Linked DNA regions of Homo sapiens: regions 1 and 2 are each linked to region 3. Evidence: promoter capture Hi-C in 16 types of primary human blood cells and fetal thymus (Javierre and others, 2016). All regions are on one chromosome and are shown on one strand. The core of a region is centred on a gene start or on the middle of the fragment in contact, and the rest is flanking DNA. Distances in the headings are between cores, read along the strand shown.

Region 1 (2,700 bases), core at 179-2,678, 450 kb after region 3:
TCAGTGACTCAGAGAGGTGGCCAACAAGTGAGGAAGAACAGGGTATCATGGGCAACTGACACAGAAATTCTCAAAGACCTAGAAGATCCAGGATCCACGATCAGCTCATTCCACCCTCTTTGGCCTTGGCAGTGACATCACATGGGAGGGTCAATCCTCCCTCTTTTCACGGAAGAGTACTTTGCTTGGCAAGGCTGTTCTTGTCACTAGTGTTTATTTGTTCACACCTGCCTTAAATGCCAGTATGACTGAAATGTTGAAACTCTCTCATCTTCATTGGTTTAGCCTAAATTTTCCCAGGCAATTAGTTTCTCTGAATATGAGCAGGTAAACACCCTTCCTTCCTCCACCCTTTTCCCGGCCGTCCTGGGACTACTTGAAACACAGGTGTGTCTTACCACACACAAACACTAAAACTCAAAAAGAGAGTAAATAACAATTACAGCTACTATTGAGCTAATGGATTGCATATAAACATTCAAGATTCTTGGACTACAGGAGCCTTTACACCCACTCGCCTCCCCAGGAATGCTTCCCTGTATTCATTCATCAGACTGACATTTGAGAATTTGGGTTATACGGACTTGTGTGATCACACCATATACCCTTTCAGTACCTGAATCTCCACTGCACATGCCACCGCTTTTCCTCCACCCAGCCTACCACCACTCACCACTACGGACATTTCTTCAGCAGATAATTGCTCACTTTTTCCACTGGCTAGGGCTTGGGTATCATGCACCAAAATGCTGAAAGTTGACTGGAAACCCTGTGTATTCATCTCTGGTGAACAGCCACCTCTCAACTTCACAGCTGCCAACAGATGGTGGTCCCATCTCCCTGGCACAGATAGTGAAGTCTCTTTTTTTGCCCAGGTATGGTTCCATAAGCACAGTTTTCCCTACCAAATAATACAACAAAGCAAACACATCAACCAGTGAAATTAGTGGATGTCTAACATTACCCAAAGACCACAATTCCCCTCTTGAGCTCTGCCCAATGCTTCTGCCCTCCCCTCCCATGCCCCCCGAATCCCCAGCCCTGTACTCCAGCTATCAGTATCTACGTCTGTCCTTTGGCCATGTACTAAGGACTTGTTCAGACCTTCTTCTTTGGTTTACCAATTTCCTTTTACACTCAACTTTAATCCTCCATTGAAATTGGAGCGACCTACAGCTTCAGGTATCCAGCATCCTCCTGAATACATGAGACAAGTGACAGTCAAGCCATGTCCCATGAGAGGACCAGGAATTGGCTTCCACTCTACTTCACCTCTCACCTTCCAGGGTCTATCAACACTCCCTGACTGAAAAAACTATCCTTAAATTATAACTCTCATGCTCAGAAGACCAGGTCTACTTCTCCAGACTGTCCCATTTAGTTTTTTCTAATGAACCTTTTTATCTATCAATTCCACAGAGTTCTTTCCTGGTGGCACCTATCACAATACGTGGTCTGGTCTCATGCGGTTGACTTTTGCTGTAGCATTACAACATAAGTTCAAGTCTTCTATCACTAACCTACCACCTACCAGTCCTTGCACACATCCTTCCCCCACTCAAGAGTCCTGCCCCCAATGCACCTCATTGCACCTTTCCTTTGGCTGCCCCCACAGAGACCCCAGAGATACTGTGGGAAAGGGCTTCTGTGTCCTCTTTCTCCCAGGCTACCCTTCCTCAGGAGATGGAAACCTTGCTAGTCACTCAATACCTGCAAAACTGGAGTTTCCGGTACAAAAAAAGAGTTAGACACATCACATTAGTAACTGGAATGAGGCACCCAAAAAACGGAAAACTGGGGCAAACCCTTTTGTTTTCCAAAAGTTTGACTGTGCTTGGGATCAAAGGTACAAGATTACTTTTTATGCCACCTTAATCCTCTGAAGCAGGAAGTTGAAGAAGAGACAGCTACTGGGATTATCCCTAAAAGGAGAGAAGAGTTCCATTAGGGCTTGGGCTAGCCTTCATCTGGGCCGGAAGAAGATTGTATGGTTGGACTGACAGTGACCACTTTTTTCAAGGTGGGGTTTTAAAGAATTAGGATAGTTAAGTGCATAAATAGACAGGCGGACAAACATAATATAATTCTAGAATTAACTTTGGAACTCTTACAAGTCTTCAATATTAGAGATGAAGAAATAAAGTCATGGAGATACTGAGGAACTTCACTCAGACAGCACAGCTGGTTAATGTCAGTAAAGCTAGCATCCACATGTTCACATCCTATCTCACGTTCTTTCTACAACCCCAAGAGGGCTTACTTCACTTAAATTGAAGTCAAATCCCAGCTATTCAGAAACCACAAAGAACAGTCTTCAAATGAGGACACAGACCTGAGAATTTGAGTGAAGGCCTTGGGACAGAACATGGCTAACACTTCCAGAACCCCCAGGCTTGTGATATTCGATTACTCCCTGGCTGCTCTTTCAGAGCCTGTGGTTTGGACAATAAGAAAGAGTGAAGTTGTCCTACAGACAGAGGGAAATAAATATGGAGGTTGTCCTACAGAGAGAGGGAAATAAATAGAGGGAAATGATGGAGGCTCTAAAGGGAAGTCAAACAGAAAAAAAAATCTCAGATAAGAAAAGGAATCATGGGATCAGAAGCACATATTGAATGGAAATCTGCTCTAAAATACCTCCTGATGGTCTTTCAGCCTCTGCTTGAAGTCTGTCCACAATAGAGTGCTCTGTACAAGGGA
Region 2 (2,700 bases), core at 137-2,636, 510 kb after region 3:
TGTGCAGCAGCAGCCACCATTTCCAGAAGCAGCTGGGAAAGACTGAAGGAGGAACAGGTTTGGGTGCAGTCCAGGTAAGAAGACCAGGGGCTCAGTTTTGAACCTGTCAATTTTGAGACGCATACAGAATAACCAAGCAGAAATACAAAGTAAGCACTTACATCTATGAGTCAGGAGCGCGGGAAAAATTCAGGAATGGAGATCTACACTTGGGAGCCATCATCGTAGGGGTAGCATTCTAGCTTTGGGGTGTATAGATCATCCAGTGACAGAATATAGATTAAGAAAAGAAGGGAACTTAAGACCATGCCCTGAGAAACCTCAACAGCTAAAGGTTGAGAAGAGAGAGAGCCCTTGGCAAAAGATTAAGAAGGAGTCAATGATTTAAGAGAAAAGTCAGGAAGGAGAGAGTGTGCAAAATGCTGAATGCCACTGAGGATCAGGAAGTGCCCACACTGAGTGACAACATGGAGAGCAGGCATGGGGGTGGGAGGGTCCAGCCAGGCTGGTCACCCAGGGATTGCTCAAATACTGGAACCTCTTCCCACTCACTTCTCTTCTTCTAAGGCACAGTGGTTTGCCATTAGATCCTGGTACATGGGAATAAGTGAGTGAATGAATGATAAATGATCTGAGGACCCAAAAGGTTTAACAGCTTGACCAAGATTATCCGGCCAGTAAGTATCAATGCCAGAGCTGAAACCCAGCTCATCTGATTCCAATGCCCATATTCTTGGTTTAAAAATACAAGCTTTAACCCAGGGGAAATACCTTTGATGACACACTCTCTGTCATGTTTAATATCATACTTTAAGGACTATTATACTTATCTCTAAAACTGAATCTATGGCTTAGGAGTTCATCAAAAACTAGGGTAGGGAGTGAGAGGCATCCCCTAAGGTCGCCTATCCAGGGGATAATGCATGAAGGAATAACCTTTACACTAAATGAATGTATAGTTTGGGTTACATCCTTGAGACCCTGTCTCAACTGACGAGCATGTGAGAGTCTGGCCACTCGCCCTGTAGGGCCAGCTCAGAGGGGAGCTTGGTGTTCTGGAGTTGTCGGTCAGGGGTGATGGTGGTGACTGTGGTATCGTGGGGGCCACCACCGCCATTCATGGTTGAAAGAAAAGAGGTGGTCAGCTGGCAGGGCCTTCTCAACTCAACCTCCCTCATCACCCGGTTCCCAAGCCAGCCTCATAACCAGTCCTCCCTCCTTTAGAAGCCGCTGGGGACCCCTTTTCTCTTCTCTTCCCAACAGCACCACCTGCTGGCCATAGAGGCACTTGGCCTTCTACTAATCACACCCAGTCTGGCCTGAGTTGGAGATGGCCGCACACACTCGGGTCCAGTCAATGCTCCATGTGGAGAAGACAAGAGTACAGAGATGCAGCATCTAACAGAGTCAGAGGAAGGCTATATGTGCAAGACAGAGTTACATTACTTATAGGGTGGGAGCAACACGAATAATGGTTCAGGACATAGGCTCAGGAATCAGACTTCTGGAATTCAAATCTAGACTCCACCACTTCTATTGTTCCCTTAAAACAAATTTCTCCTATGTGAGAGTAAGTGACACAGAATCTCCTATGAGCCAAGCACTGGAGTTACAGCAGCGAACCAGATACACAGAATCCCTGCCTCCCAGAGCTCACATGAGGAGGAAGACAGACAAAAAGCAACTCAGCAAATGCATAAATAAGAAATTGAAGAAAATGAAACAAAATGACCAGGGAAGAGGGGTGCTCTTTAGCTCGGGTAATGTGGAAAGGCCGATCTGAGGTGAGAGCAACAGAAATGATGGGTTACATGATGGTGGCAATGGCAGCGTGCTGGAGGTGAGAGGAAATCTGAGGGAACATTTTCTTGAATGTGAATTGACTGACAAAAGTGTCACTGAACACATTACCTTTGATTCCTAAATAGCCAGAATGACAAAGCCTATCTGTAGATTACTCATTGTGTTCTCATTCATTTATTTTTTCATTCAACAAATCTTTGTTGAGTAGCTACTGTATGCCAAGCTTTCCTTTAGGTGCTGGAGATGTAGCAGTAAACAGACCAAAAGTGCTGTTTTTGTGGAGTTTACACTTAGAGGACACCAAAAGCTCATTTATCCATTCACTGAGCTCCTGCTGAGCACCTAATGCCAAGCATGATGCCAGACACTGATGGGTCCCAGACCCTAAACAATAGGGCTATCTTGGGGTGGGCACATTGTGGCCAGGGTGAATATGCACCTGCATCTGTTTAGGTTTGTTCACAGGCATAAACACACACCTGCCTGAGCATGTATCCCATCAAACCTCAGACAACATGTATATACTGTTCAGATGTTTTTCAAAATGCATCGGGAAGACCCCGAAGGGGTCTCAGTAGAGGCTTTTTATTTGATTCAAAGCTTCAAAAGATTATTCCATCTGCAAAATGTATAAAGGCTGGATGTTGGAGGAAGCATGAAATAGGGAGAGGAAGGACCTGCTACTAGAGTTATGGCTAAAGGTGGTAGATGGCAGCAGTGGAGACAAAGACAAGAGGGTGACGCTAAGTGTTTTGGAGGAATAACTAACAGGAGTAGCAGGGGGACTCAATGTGTGGGGTAAAGGAGGAGAAAGAAGGCAGAAATACTCCCAAGTTTATGGCTTAGGCCACTAGGTGGATGCAGAGAGGTGAGGACTAGGAGATATGTGGGTACATG
Region 3 (2,700 bases), core at 187-2,686:
AGCCCACAGAACACTCATTTAGGCTGAGTGAAGTGAGGTGAATCTATAGTTAAATTCTCAATTTTTCATACACTGTGCCAAAAGCTACACTTAGCTTTAGATTAGATTCTCAATTTTAGTTTGATTCTCTGAGCTACACTTAGCTTTTGGCACAGTGTATGAAAAATTGAGAATCTAACTATAACTTGGATAAGTCCTGAAGACTCAAGTGACCTGGAAACAGCTTCATTAGAGACAGATCACATAGGCATCACTCATAACTTATAGGAAAAGGAGACTGACTTGTTTCCTGAGGAAGGGAACAGGAATCATTTATCTAGTGTTTGGGAAAACCCAATGTCAAGCACAGACATGCCCTGCCTCTGACTGAGGAGCCAGGCATACTGGGGAGGAATCTTGCCAATGCAACACCATCCCTTCTCCTTGTGATCTCTGGTGCTTCATTTAGATGCCATTAAATTGCCTCATTGCTGCCCTATAAAAGGTCTCCCCACCTGCTAGTTTTTCAGATCACTGACTTCTTCCAGTCTTGCTCCTATCAGCAAAGAGGGTAAGTCTCTATACGGGATAAGGACATGGTGAGAAACAGAGCTTTGGGGAAGCTGGGGTGGGATGAGAGCTGTGGGATGAAGGGTGAGCGAGGACTAGATGCTTAGGAAATCTGCTGAAGGAGGCTGAAAGCAATGCTGGTGGGAAACTTGGAGCCTGGGGCATGAGAGGAGAGGGAGGGGGACACGATGAGCTGGCATTCCTGTTTAAGAAGGGACTTTAGAGAACTGGCTCCCCATCCCCTTATCTGAATGCAATTGTGCAGTCCTCTCTTGGGTCTATGTGCTAATGAGGCCAACTGATTAGTCCAGCTGGTTCAAGGAGCACCTGGTAGAAACCTGCTCAAATTTAGCCTTGTTCTTTGCTCAGTACCGGGCACAGCTTGAGGCTCATGTTGGCTCAGGGTCCATGGACATAAATTTGTCTTTGCTGGGTATTCCTTGTCTGGGCAGAAGGAAGAAGGGAAGTCACCCTGGAGAGAACTGGTGGCAGGGGTCAATCATCTGGGAGCAGCAATTTCCAAAGGGTAATTCACAATGCAGACACTGAAGAAAGAGGAGAGGAGGCTTGGAGAGTTGGGTAGAAACACAGGCAGCACCATTTCAAGCCTCCATTTCCCAATATAGAGACTGAGGCCCAGAGGTAAGCGATGACTTGTACCAAGCCACATAGCCAGGTACAGGCACAGAAGCTGAGCTGAGAGTCCCTGGCTCTGAATCCACCTCCTGCCAAGTATACAGCCTCTGGATGTCTGCAACCTTCTCAAGAAAGCCTTGCTTGCAAATCACTGTATTCAAAGGGGATGTTGAAGGTTTCCCCTAGAAACCTTCCTGGTTTTACAGTTCTAATGAAACCTTTCTTTTCAGATTTTGCAAAGCCACAGAACAATGTGTGACCAGCAGAAGCAGCCACAGTTCCCTCCATCTTGTGTGAAAGGTTCGGGACTAGGGGCTGGGCAGGGTAGCAATGGTGCCTCTGTGAAATGCCCAGTTCCATGCCAGACCCAAACTGTCTGTGTGACAGGCCCTGCTCCATGCCCTACTCAAACTTATGTGAAGTACCAAGTTCCATGCCAGACTCAAACCTACGTGAAGTGCCCAGCTCCCTGCCAGAGGACCTATGTGAAATACCCAACACCCTGCCAAACCTATGTGAAGTGCCCAGCTCCCTGCCAGACAACCTATGTAAAATGCCCAACTCCCTGCCAAACCTACGTGAAGTGCCCAGCTCCCTGCCAGATGACCTACATCAAAAGTCCAGCTCCCTGCCAGACCCAGACGTGCTATGTCCAGGGTGCTTCTCCTTGCCAGAGCTATTATGTTCAAGCTCCTGCAAGTGGCTCAACCTCCCAGTACTGTGTCACTGACCCATGCTCTGCTCCCTGTTCCACCAGCTACTGCTGTCTGGCTCCCCGGACCTTCGGGGTGAGTCCCCTGAGACGCTGGATTCAGCGGCCCCAGAACTGCAACACAGGATCATCTGGCTGCTGTGAGAATTCGGGAAGCTCTGGATGCTGTGGTTCTGGGGGCTGTGGCTGCAGCTGTGGATGTGGCAGCTCTGGGTGCTGCTGTTTGGGAATTATCCCCATGAGGTCCCGAGGTCCTGCATGCTGTGACCATGAGGATGACTGCTGCTGCTAAACATACGACAGCTCAACTCCAGAATGCACTGCCCCGCTACCCCTTCTGGAACATGCACCAGCTTCTGGCCCCCTCTCTGTTAGTGCCAGTGATGTAGAACCTCATCACTTTGCCTCTGTGCTTTGCTTCTCTACCAAGGCAGCCTGCCAGAGTTAGTACAGTCCCCAAACTTTGGCATGAATAAAGCTCTGAATGCATTTCGTGGTAATTTCTGTCTGTTTGTTTGGTCCATATTTATGCTTTTCTATCAGGCACTCTTCTGCATCCCTCTCTTCTTACTCTTGTTTCTCAGCTAGAGGAAAGATCTGCACGAACATGAACAAGCAGACTGAGCTGGTGAAATCCCAGCCTGGGAGCCCCATGCCTTCTAGAATGCTGTGAATAAACTTTCCCACGCAAGTTAGAAGCATCTGAAAATGGAGATTTGAGGGTTGGGGCTGTTTCTGTGCTGCCCTTTGATGAGCCTCAGAGCAGGGTTGACCATGATGAGACCCTCATCTTCCTGGGTGTT

Evidence for each region. The method cuts DNA at HindIII sites, captures the fragments that hold promoters and counts their contacts. A CHiCAGO score of 5 or more calls a contact.
Region 1: a contact is called between a fragment that was not itself captured here and the fragment with the promoter of KPLCE in region 3, in 4 of 17 cell types (M0 macrophages, endothelial precursors, M2 macrophages and 1 more). The highest score is 8.6, in M0 macrophages.
Region 2: a contact is called between a fragment that was not itself captured here and the fragment with the promoter of KPLCE in region 3, in 4 of 17 cell types (M0 macrophages, megakaryocytes, erythroblasts and 1 more). The highest score is 6.4, in M0 macrophages.

Annotation. Positions count from the first base shown.
Region 1 is chr1:153,170,888-153,173,587 of GRCh38, forward strand. It overlaps a transcript of SPRR2G not described here. Among named protein-coding and RNA genes, the nearest start is that of SPRR2G, 21 kb to the left of the region's middle. The HindIII fragment of the contact is 3,626 bases long and covers 1-2,700 here.
Region 2 is chr1:153,228,191-153,230,890 of GRCh38, forward strand. No RefSeq gene overlaps it. Among named protein-coding and RNA genes, the nearest start is that of PRR9, 12 kb to the left of the region's middle. The HindIII fragment of the contact is 1,275 bases long and covers 750-2,024 here.
Region 3 is chr1:152,718,086-152,720,785 of GRCh38, forward strand. It overlaps KPLCE (KPRP N-terminal and LCE C-terminal like protein), which reads left to right and starts at 1,437. Exons shown (of 1, transcript NM_001024679.3): 1 at 1,437-2,385. The coding sequence starts at 1,437. The coding sequence ends at 2,189. The HindIII fragment of the contact is 5,275 bases long and covers 1-2,700 here.